Linked DNA regions of Homo sapiens: region 1 is linked to region 2. The links are contacts of gene promoters, found by promoter capture Hi-C in blood cells and fetal thymus (Javierre and others, 2016). All regions are on one chromosome and are shown on one strand. The core of a region is centred on a gene start or on the middle of the fragment in contact, and the rest is flanking DNA. Distances in the headings are between cores, read along the strand shown. Region 1 has its middle 510 kb from the start of HTR2A. Region 2 holds the start of HTR2A (5-hydroxytryptamine receptor 2A).

Region 1 (5,090 bases), core at 170-2,669, 510 kb after region 2:
GAGGTCAGAGGCTTAGAGAGATTAAGTTTCCCAAAGCCACACAATTAGGAGGATCGTGAGGCTGGCATTCAACCCACATCATCATCTACTGTCTCTCATGGCATCATTTAACAACAACAACAACACAGAGTGGCTACACAGGCATTCATGGGAAGTAAGAAAAGTATTCAAAGATTATCTCTATATTGAGCCTTGAATATTGAGCAGAGGCTCCACTTGGAAACATAAACACACACACACACACACACACACACACACACACACACACACACACGCACACAGAAAAGAGCATCCCGGGCTGGCTGAAAAAATCTGTCCAGGCTAAAATTCAAGGAGGGAAGAATGTAAGAATGTGGAATGATCAGAGAAGTTGAAGAACCTCTAACCATGGGATGTGGAAGGCTATTGACAGGGTAACAGGCTGAAGAGGTGAGTTGGTACAAGTCAGAGTGCTATGGATACTGTGCAGAGAAGTTTAGAATATTTTTTAATAGAGAACCAGTTTAGTATTTAATGCCATCAGAAACATAACTTGTTCAGGAAAGTGAAGGATTTATTGAAATGAGAAGAGGTTATACAGACCAACACTTGTATTTTTTTGTATTTCTTTTCTTATCTTTCTATAGTTTAATATATCCATTGATAAGTACTTCAGATTGTATACATAAAATATTAAATCTATAACTATATAATATCATATATATGTGTCTCCAGCTGTATTTGAAATATCCAAGGCTATGAAAAACTTGTTTTCTATCTCTTTTGTTTATATCATAATGCCTCCCATGCTGCTCTGAACAAAGTAAGTGCTAAATAAATGCTCATTTAATAACTTAGGAGGGTATCCTTGAAAATTAAGCTTTCTGGAAGGCATAGATTTACTGTTCTTAATCTTTCTTTGGAAGAGAACTGTTGAGATAAAAACACTTCTATGTTAAACATATAAAATTCAAATTTTGAATCAAGTATTGGTTTTCCAGGGGAAAAAATTACCATAACTTGAGATTATTGTAACTAAATATATAGTATATGTAAAAGTTAGACAAGGTGGTCACTACTCAGAAAGATGTGCTTTATTTTGTTTTCCAACTTCGACGTGGTATGGTTTTTAAAATGTATCTTCTGTGCTGGTTGCCTTTAAATAAGAAATTGTGTGTATGTGTGTGTGTGTGTTTGTGTGTGGTGTGTATGTGCACATGTGTCATGACACATGAGTAACAATGAGCTTGAAGGCTTTTGTACAGGGTGATGATGAATATTGATTGAATTCATGAACTGTTATCTATGAGCTGCTTCTCTGTTTTTTTAAAGGAATTGGTTATTAAGCAATGAGAGCTTTTAATGCTGAGTCCTATAATTATTGTGATGTCCTTTCTAACAGCTGTGTTCTCTATATGTGTATTTTTAGCGAAGTGATTATAAAAGCAGAACTACATGTTCTTCTGCCCAGAGTCCTCTCTACCTGCATCCATCAATTTTCCTGTCTTTTTCATCCAATAAACAGCTACCCCACTTACTTTGCAGTGAACTGTTGATTTTAAGGGATCTTATTTTAAATTGCTGGATATATTCACTCTCTTTTCTTAATAAGCATATGTCCTGGACAAGTGTTATATGGATATTTGAATTTTAATGGATATTCAATGTTTACATATGTCTTTCTCGATCTGGGATTGTGATGCCAGAGGATGTCAAGGTGTCATCAAATATTCTTAAAGGCCTTTGCCTCATCCCTCCCAATCTAATCATACTTATTCATTTGTCAAGCATTTATAGGACATCTATTATGCATAAGAAAAAGATTACAGTCATGAGCCATTTCCTCTCTGTGTTTACACTGTAGCAAGCAAACTGAAATTATAATATATGGCAAATGCCACAACTAGATATCCACAAAGTATTAAGAAAGCCAAAAGGAGGGAACTTAGCACCAGTGGGAGGGTCAGAGAAACCTACCTAGAGGAGAGGCCAAATGAGGAGAAAGCTTAGAAAATCTCACTGTTCTTAGTGCCCAAGGCCTTTAACCAACCCAACCTTCCCAAAGCTATTTCCAGGTCTTCCCATAAGCCAAATCAAGCAATTGCTTAATGTGAACATGAGAATCTGTCATCTTCAGTTCTTAATTAACTATATTATATTTTATTTTAAAAGAAAAGTTAACAATAGTCATGCAACAAGCATTCACTGAGCACCTATTGAGTGCCAGGTATTATGCTAAGTGTCTGGTAAATATAAATAAAGCATTGTTCCTATATTAAAGAAACTTAAAAAAACCCTCAATTAGTAATTAACATATAAGTACAGTATTTAGAATTACATATATTGTGATTTGTAGGGTCACAGAGAAAGTGGTTGCAACCCAGTAGCATTCAAAGTGGGGAATATGAGAAGTGAGAAGGCCAGCAAACACTCCATCCATGACACAACAGTTTAGTTGAATAGGTTGAGTAGGTTGAGTAAGTCACCCAATTAGAAGATGGTGGGGCTGGAATTTGAACTCACATCACCTGACTCAACTGTCTCTCTTGGTATCATTAAAAAATTATTGAGTGGTTACCTAGACGTTCATGGGAAGTCAGAAAGTCTTCACAGAAAAGGGTGTATACTGAGTAAATTAATAATCTCAGAAGTACAATAAGCTATAGAGATCCATAGCACATAAACTGTGATCAAAAAAGATTTTCCAAAAAAGCATAGCATGAATGAATCTTGAAGTCTGAGAAAATAATACCAGTTAGGTGTAAAAGGGAGAGAGGGCATGTCAAAGAATAGTATTAACACTTGAGAGAACATGGAGGTATGACACACCTTTTTTTTTTTTTCAAGTTAAGAAAGTTATCTTCTATCCCTAGTATTTCTGATGATTTTTAAGTTATAAATAATCATTGAAATTTATCAAATGACTATAACTCTTGAGGCAGTTGATACTATTATTCACTTTTAGTCCATTAATATGATTGATTTGATAGGTTTTTTACTTTTGAATTATTCTTGGATTCTTGGAATAAAACCTTCTTGATCATGATTTATTTATTTAAATGAACAGCAGATTCACTTATGTAAAATTTTATACAGAATTTTGAAATCCATATACTAAGACTATAACTTGTGTATGCGTCTGCATGTGCTGTTCTTAACATTTTTTAAAAATGAGTTTATAGAGGCTTCAAAAATTGATTGGGCATTTCCCCCTCTATTTTTCAGAAACAACTATAAAAATCTGATTTTCTTTTGTCATTTTTTCCACTAGCATTTCTTATTCTATGTATTTGCTTGTTTTTGTTTATTTTTTTTCTTATTATTATGTTATCTCAGTAGTTCCCAGCCTGGGTTGTATATGAAAATCATCTGGGACATATATACATATATATTCTAATAGCTAGGTTCTGCCTAGGTATGCTAACAGTTAAGTTAGAATCTCTAGAGTTGGTCAGGTACAGTGGTTCACGCCTGTAATCCCAGCACTTTGGGAGGCTGAGGTAGGCGGATCACCTGAGTTCAGGAGTTTGAGACCAGCCTGGCCAACATGGAGAAACCCCGTCTCTACTAAAAGTGTAAAAACTACCCGGGCACAGTGGCGTGCACCTGTAGTCCCAACTACTTGGAGGCTGAGGCAGGAGAAACGCCTGAACCCAGGAGGTCACTATAAAATGTGAATTTTCTTTTGTCATTTTTTCCACTAGCATTGGAGTTGCAGTGGTTGCAGTGAGCCGAGATTGTGCCACTGCACTCTAGCCTGGGCAACAGAGCAGGACTCTGTCTCAAAACAAACAAACAAACAAACAAAAACAAAAACAAAACTCTAGAGATAAAGCCTCATCTATTTTAAAAAAACACTATTTTTTAAATCTTTCCATCCAAAAGCACTATTAGATTAATGTATTCTTCTTCAGATAAAAAGCTGTTGGATGGATACATTTAATATTTTTCTGGTTTTTGTCATTCTTTTTTATGCTTTTATATAATGCTTCCTTTTTAAATAGAAAACCATTATTGTGCTTCATTGCACTTACACCATTTCATTTCTACAGTTATATGTGGGCTACTTGTGTCTTCTCCACTGGTGCCCTGCTTAATTAGAGGAGAACTTGTTGTGTCTATTTTATGTATTCTCATATATCTAGGGTCTAGCATAGTTCTAGGCAAGTAGTAGATCCTTTACAAATACTTGTTGAGCTGAAAGTTTTAACCATATATGAGCAAACAGTCTAAAAGTCTCTAAAAATTTACATGACTTTGATTATGCATTAAAACTTGGAGATAATCATACTATATTTTAAATCTGGTTGAACTCCTAGAAGGATTTTGAGATATTTGAATTACTAAAGTCCATAAAGTTTAAAATAAAGTAAAAGGTTTATATACAAGACCCAGCTGGATGCTGGCTGGACAAACATTGTCCTCTTTAGCCTTTGTTCTATTCCTTTACGGCAGTTACATGTGGACTGGACAGCCATGACCAACCCTGCACTAGAACTGCTGGGTCAGTTACACTTTAGAGCACAAGACATGCTTGGAGGGAATCCATTGCTGTCTCCATCAACATCACCAGTCGATTTCATCTTTGAGTCGGAACCTCCTAACTTTAAGAAGGTACTGCTTGCCTAGAACTATGCTAGATCCCAGATATATGAGGATTTCTGTTATTTTACCTTGAGACTCTCTAAAAGGGCAACAGAAACACTCAAAAATCTAAAACAGAAACCAGTAGTTATAAATGGCCATTTTTTTATGAACAGGAAGTAGAATAGAAGAAAAATGTAAAGGAAGTTAAAAGAGCAGACTTTCAAATTATTTTTCATCTTGGTGGGAAAGAAAAAATCCTCCCTGGGAGGTTTCTCGATATAGGAAGTGTGGATATTCTTGGCCTAATTCCTGTCTAGCACTTCTCTGCACTGTTCCTCTCTCCGCCACACCTCCCCCAGCCCTCGGCTAAGGAGTGCTCATTTGCATAATTAAACTGCTTGACAGGGATGCTGAGAGAGTGGAACAAGGCATGCACGGAGCCAAGTATTCTTCAAATGCCATCCTTACCCACACCCCTACTACACAAGGGAAACTGCTAAACCGTTTGAAGAGAAAAGGGAAGT
Region 2 (4,937 bases), core at 1,243-3,742:
TTTAATCTTAGCCCCTAAGACTTGACCAGAAAATTTCCCTTTAAAGATAGCTATCATAACCTGTCTCTAAGCTCTGAGTGACTGCTGCTTGTGCCTGTGTCAGCAGTCACAATAGTCTCTCCTTTAAGGAGGTATCTGGCTGTATTACTCATAATTTGGAAAGAATATCACATTCTGGTCCCTTGCTGAGAGGTCTGACTGTTTCAAACTCTGTTGAGAAGAAAGCAAGATTAATCCCTTCCCATTTGTTTCCCACCCTCCTCCAAACCAGACTGGAGGAGTTTATGCATATGCATTTTCAAAGAGTTGAGGATATAATTCAAAGGCACATTTCCAAATTAGCTTCTCTGGGCAGGGAACAATTAAAACTGGAGTAATTCATTTATTCTAATTGAGGTTCTGCATATTTTAACATAAAACCTATTGCACCACTAATGTTCTCTCTGCAAATGTTCCAAAGTAATTGGGAAGGCTTTATCACTCCATTAAAAGTGCTGAAAACTGTGTGACAAAGATTAAAACTGTTCTGTCCTGAAGGCTGGAATATTGGTTGGGAATATAAAGAAGCAAAAATCAAGTAGATTCAGAATGATGGGTAAGTTATTGGTTTATGACTGTATGGGGTAATTTATAAAAATTTCTACATTAAATGTACATGTTTTGAAGCACAAAACTCTCCAATGATCATTTTTACACAGGATGTACGCGTTTTGAAGCACAAAACTCTCCAGTGATCACAGGTCATAGACTGTCTGATTTTTATGTGAAATCCCATTTTAAGAGTAAAATATAAGTAACATAGTAGGCTCTAGTCTATAAACAAAGACTTCTATTTATAGTTTGTTTGCCCCCTGAGCCCCATCTCATCTGCTGGTGGCATGCACATGCTCTTTATTACCAGTGCGAATATAGCTGGGAAACTAATGCCACTCACCATACAGGATGGTTAACATGGACACGGGCATGACAAGGAAACCCAGCAGCATATCAGCTATGGCAAGTGACATCAGGAAATAGTTGGTGGCATTCTGCAGCTTTTTCTCTAGGGACACTGCCATGATGACGAGTATGTTTCCAGCAATAGTTAGAATAATCACTACGGCTGTCAGTAAAGCAGACCAGTTTTTTTCCTGGAGATGAAGTAAGGAGAGACACGACGGTGAGAGGCACCCTTCACAGGAAAGGTTGGTTCGATTTTCAGAGTCGACTGTCCAGTTAAATGCATCAGAAGTGTTAGCTTCTCCGGAGTTAAAGTCATTACTGTAGAGCCTGGTGTCATCATTTAATTGCATTAGGGAGTTCGTAGTTGAGCTCAAAGAAGTATTTTCTTCACAAAGAATATCCATGTCTAAGCCAGAACTTGTAGCAGATGAGGTGTAGAAGGACTAACAGGTTATAGTTTCTGCTCACCATTCACCTTGATGTACCCACACTCTGTAACACTGAGGCTGGTGTACATGCTGTTCTCCCGGGGCTGGATTTTTGTCTTCCATTATTACAATGATAGTTAAAGAACTGAACTGTGGTGGCTGTAAGTTTTCTTCATTCACAATTTTAGGAGAGTCCACTGTTTGGTTTTATTATTTTCTCACCAAACCGAGGACAAAAAAGCAGAATGAACTTTTAGCATAGAGGTTGCAGGGTTTTTTTTGAGCGCTCGGGAAGATAAATGTCCTGGACAAAGAAGAAAAGTTTTATAACTACTGGGACTCTTGTTTAACTATATCTCATTTTGTTGGTTATGCCGATGGTACTAGTTTAGCAACAGTATTATTAAAATAGCATGCAATCAGAAACAGTGGGGATGTACACATTCTACATTAAGAAAGTCAATTAAAAATACATCCAGTGTTAATCCCATAGTAATTGGATGTACTTTGGGTTACAGTTCTCAGCCATTCTTAAGCTGAATTGCCACAGCTGCTGTCAGGAATTTCAGCTCCTATAATGTTGCTTAGCTAATAAAAGGAAAACAAAAAAGTCTTAAGTAAAGATTAGCAGACAACTTTCCTCCCTGGAAATTCTCATTGAAATGATTACATGTTGGCCAAGCATGATTTCAAACCGGAAAGAAAATTACACAGCAATAAAATATAGCGGCATGAGAACTTACATTTGTCTTCAGGGTCCACACATGAGATACATTTGTTATTCTGTGACTCGCTGCATCTCTCACAGTAATTAAACTGGTGTAGAGTCCCCTCTTCTTGATCTTCCACCAGCATAATATGATAGTAATTTGGTTTCTGTTTTGCTGACTTCAAAAACTGCATGCAAGAGCTGAGCCAGCTCCCGCACTGCTAGGATCCTGTTGGCTTCCTCTGGCACGGCTCGGCTGGGTTCCTCCCTCCCTGTGCGGCTCGCCTCAGCAGGCACACATTTAGAAATCATTCACGAGCCCCTCAAAGTCGCACAAAAGAACTGCATGGGAAAGTAGGAAGAGCTGTCTGCACCAAGGGACTCCTGGTTTCCACGGGAATGGAGTAGCTCTCTGACTGTCTCGTTCATTTCATCAGACCTCCCTCTATGTGTATGTCATAAGCTGCAAGGTAGCAACAGCCAGGAGGGCGGACCAAACAGGCTTTTTCTTCTCCCTCTTTTTGCTACATATTAATATTGGGAAGTTTTCCTTTGCTTTTGAGAGAAACTGGAGAAATGGCCTTTTGTGCAGATTCCCATTAAGGTAGGTAAGTGGCACTGTGGTAATTTTTTAGGCTGAAGGGTGAAGAGAGAACATAAATAAGGCTAGAAAACAGTATGTCCTCGGAGTGCTGTGAGTGTCCGGCACTTCCATCCAAAGCCAACAGTGTTTGTGTCCAGAGTGGAATTACTGACATTGGCCACATAGGCTCAGGGTGGCTAGGCACGTCTGTGGTGATAACTCTGATAAACTATTAGCACTATTTTTATTTAATAGATACACCATTGAACTGGCTTATTTTCTTCAGCAGAAATATGCCACCCAGATATTATTCAAAACCTCACATGTGGTAGGAAATAAGTTGGTTTCGCAGTACCAATTTTTTTCCCCCACCAGTAATGACAACTTGCCTTACTTGTAAAGAAAGCCCTTTCCCAAGTAGGTTTCTAAAGGAGGCAGTTCGATCTCTCTCTTTTTGCAGGCATGAAAATATTTTCCTCAATAGTTGGGTTTTGCTACAGTTCTATCACCTTCTGTTCTTCACATTCTCCCTGGACAAATTCAACCACTCTCATGCCTTCAATATGTTTGTGGCCAAGTCTGTACCTTCATAGCTGATTATTTCTCTCAGTTCCAGACCTAAATCTCTAGCTGCCCATTGGCTCCTTCCATGGTAGCCTGGGAGACCTTGACCTCAGCATCTTCCCTCACTCCGCATCCCCCTGCCCGGCTCTCAGTGCTTGTTCCTACCCATTGGCTTGCATGATGGAATCACCACCTCTTCAGACAGCTGCTGTTATCCGCGACTCTTCCTTCATTCTCGCTGCCAGATCCCACTTCGTCTCCGGTGCTACCTCTGTATGCGTGTTTCTCACATGTCCTCTCCTGCAGCCTGCAGCTGGCACCCTGTGGTCGAGATCTAGCCACCTATTTCCTGGGTGGGTGCCTTAGTGCCCCCCTCACTGCCATGCCTGCCACCCTCCTACCCCTCCACGTTAAATATGCACGCTGGCGAGCAGGCAGCGGAGAACACAGACCTTAGAGTTCCTTGGTTTTGGATCCTAGCTCTATCACTCATAAACAGTAGAACCTCGCCTCATCTAGTTGCTCCCTTTAAAGCTCAGTCTTCTCACTTGTAAAATGGGATAATACCTTCCTCATAAGATTGTAGTGAAGCTAAACTGAGATAATGTGTGTAAGTATTTGGCCCATGTCTGGCTTATAGGAGGTTCTCAAGTAATGTCAGCCACTTTCATTCCTATTGATATTCTTACTGATATTAATGACACAATTGGCATCACTCCCATGCCTACACTCCTGCAGTCCCTTCCTTGTGGGGCACATAACACTTTTCTTCATCTACCTGTACCCTGCTTGCCCCACTTTGCAGGCCTGGACTCTGGTTACTCTCCCAGTCAGCCTGTATGCAGACTGAACTTACATGTTTCTGACCATTTTTATGTCTCTGTACTTGTACTTCCCTGTGCCCGGAGTGCTCTTACCATTCCTTTTTTGTGTGTGTCCATCTGGCAAATTCGTGCTTAGTTCCAGAGCAGCTCTGGATCCCAGGCCTACCACTCACCACATCTGTAAGCGTGATTAAGCTACCTAATCTCTGTGTTTTAGTCTCCTCATCCGCAAGTAGGGAACATTAATAATAAAAAGACCTCAGGATTGACGTGAAAGCCAAATAAATTTACATATTTGCCTGGCACATTTTAAGCACTCAATAAAGGTTAGTTGCTATTATTCTTACTAAGTTTACTGTTCCTAAGCTTTCTGTAGCCCTCCTTCCCAGTGGAGGCAAAGACTATAGCACCTTCTGCAGCCTTCTATTTTTAACACATCATGTCTCATGTAAGCCTCATAAAGGCAGGAACTGTGTCTATCTTGTTAACAGCTGGGCGCATAGTGCTTAAGTATGTTTGTTGAATGAATGCATGACATCTGTGTAAATGTCTGTCTTCTCTATTAGATGTTGAACTTCATTTCCATACCCTTAATATAGATGTAATCTATATTACATCTATCTTATACTATTATATTATCCACCCAGATGCAATTCATAAACCTCACATGTGGTATCTAAGCATGGTATCTCATAATGGAAGGTCCTCAACAGATGTGTTCTGACTGAATTGTTATTAGCATAAATTAAGATGAATTGATTATTAAAAAGGAGAACCAGGGAGAAACTTAGAACCTCTCATTTTTTCTTGTTACTTTGTTTATTGGGATACCAATTTAATTTTATTAAAGATAGCAGAGGGAAATGTAATATAAAAAATACTCCAGT

Evidence for each region. The method cuts DNA at HindIII sites, captures the fragments that hold promoters and counts their contacts. A CHiCAGO score of 5 or more calls a contact.
Region 1: a contact is called between a fragment that was not itself captured here and the fragment with the promoter of HTR2A in region 2, in 1 of 17 cell types (M0 macrophages). The highest score is 5.8, in M0 macrophages.

What each region holds. Positions count from the first base shown.
Region 1 is chr13:47,403,069-47,408,158 of GRCh38, forward strand. No RefSeq gene overlaps it. Among named protein-coding and RNA genes, the nearest start is that of HTR2A, 510 kb to the left of the region's middle. The HindIII fragment of the contact is 1,125 bases long and covers 858-1,982 here.
Region 2 is chr13:46,894,561-46,899,497 of GRCh38, forward strand. HTR2A (5-hydroxytryptamine receptor 2A) reads right to left here and starts at 2,493. Exons shown (of 4, transcript NM_000621.5): 1 at 2,114-2,493; 2 at 935-1,674. The coding sequence starts at 1,346. The HindIII fragment of the contact is 5,377 bases long and covers 1-4,414 here.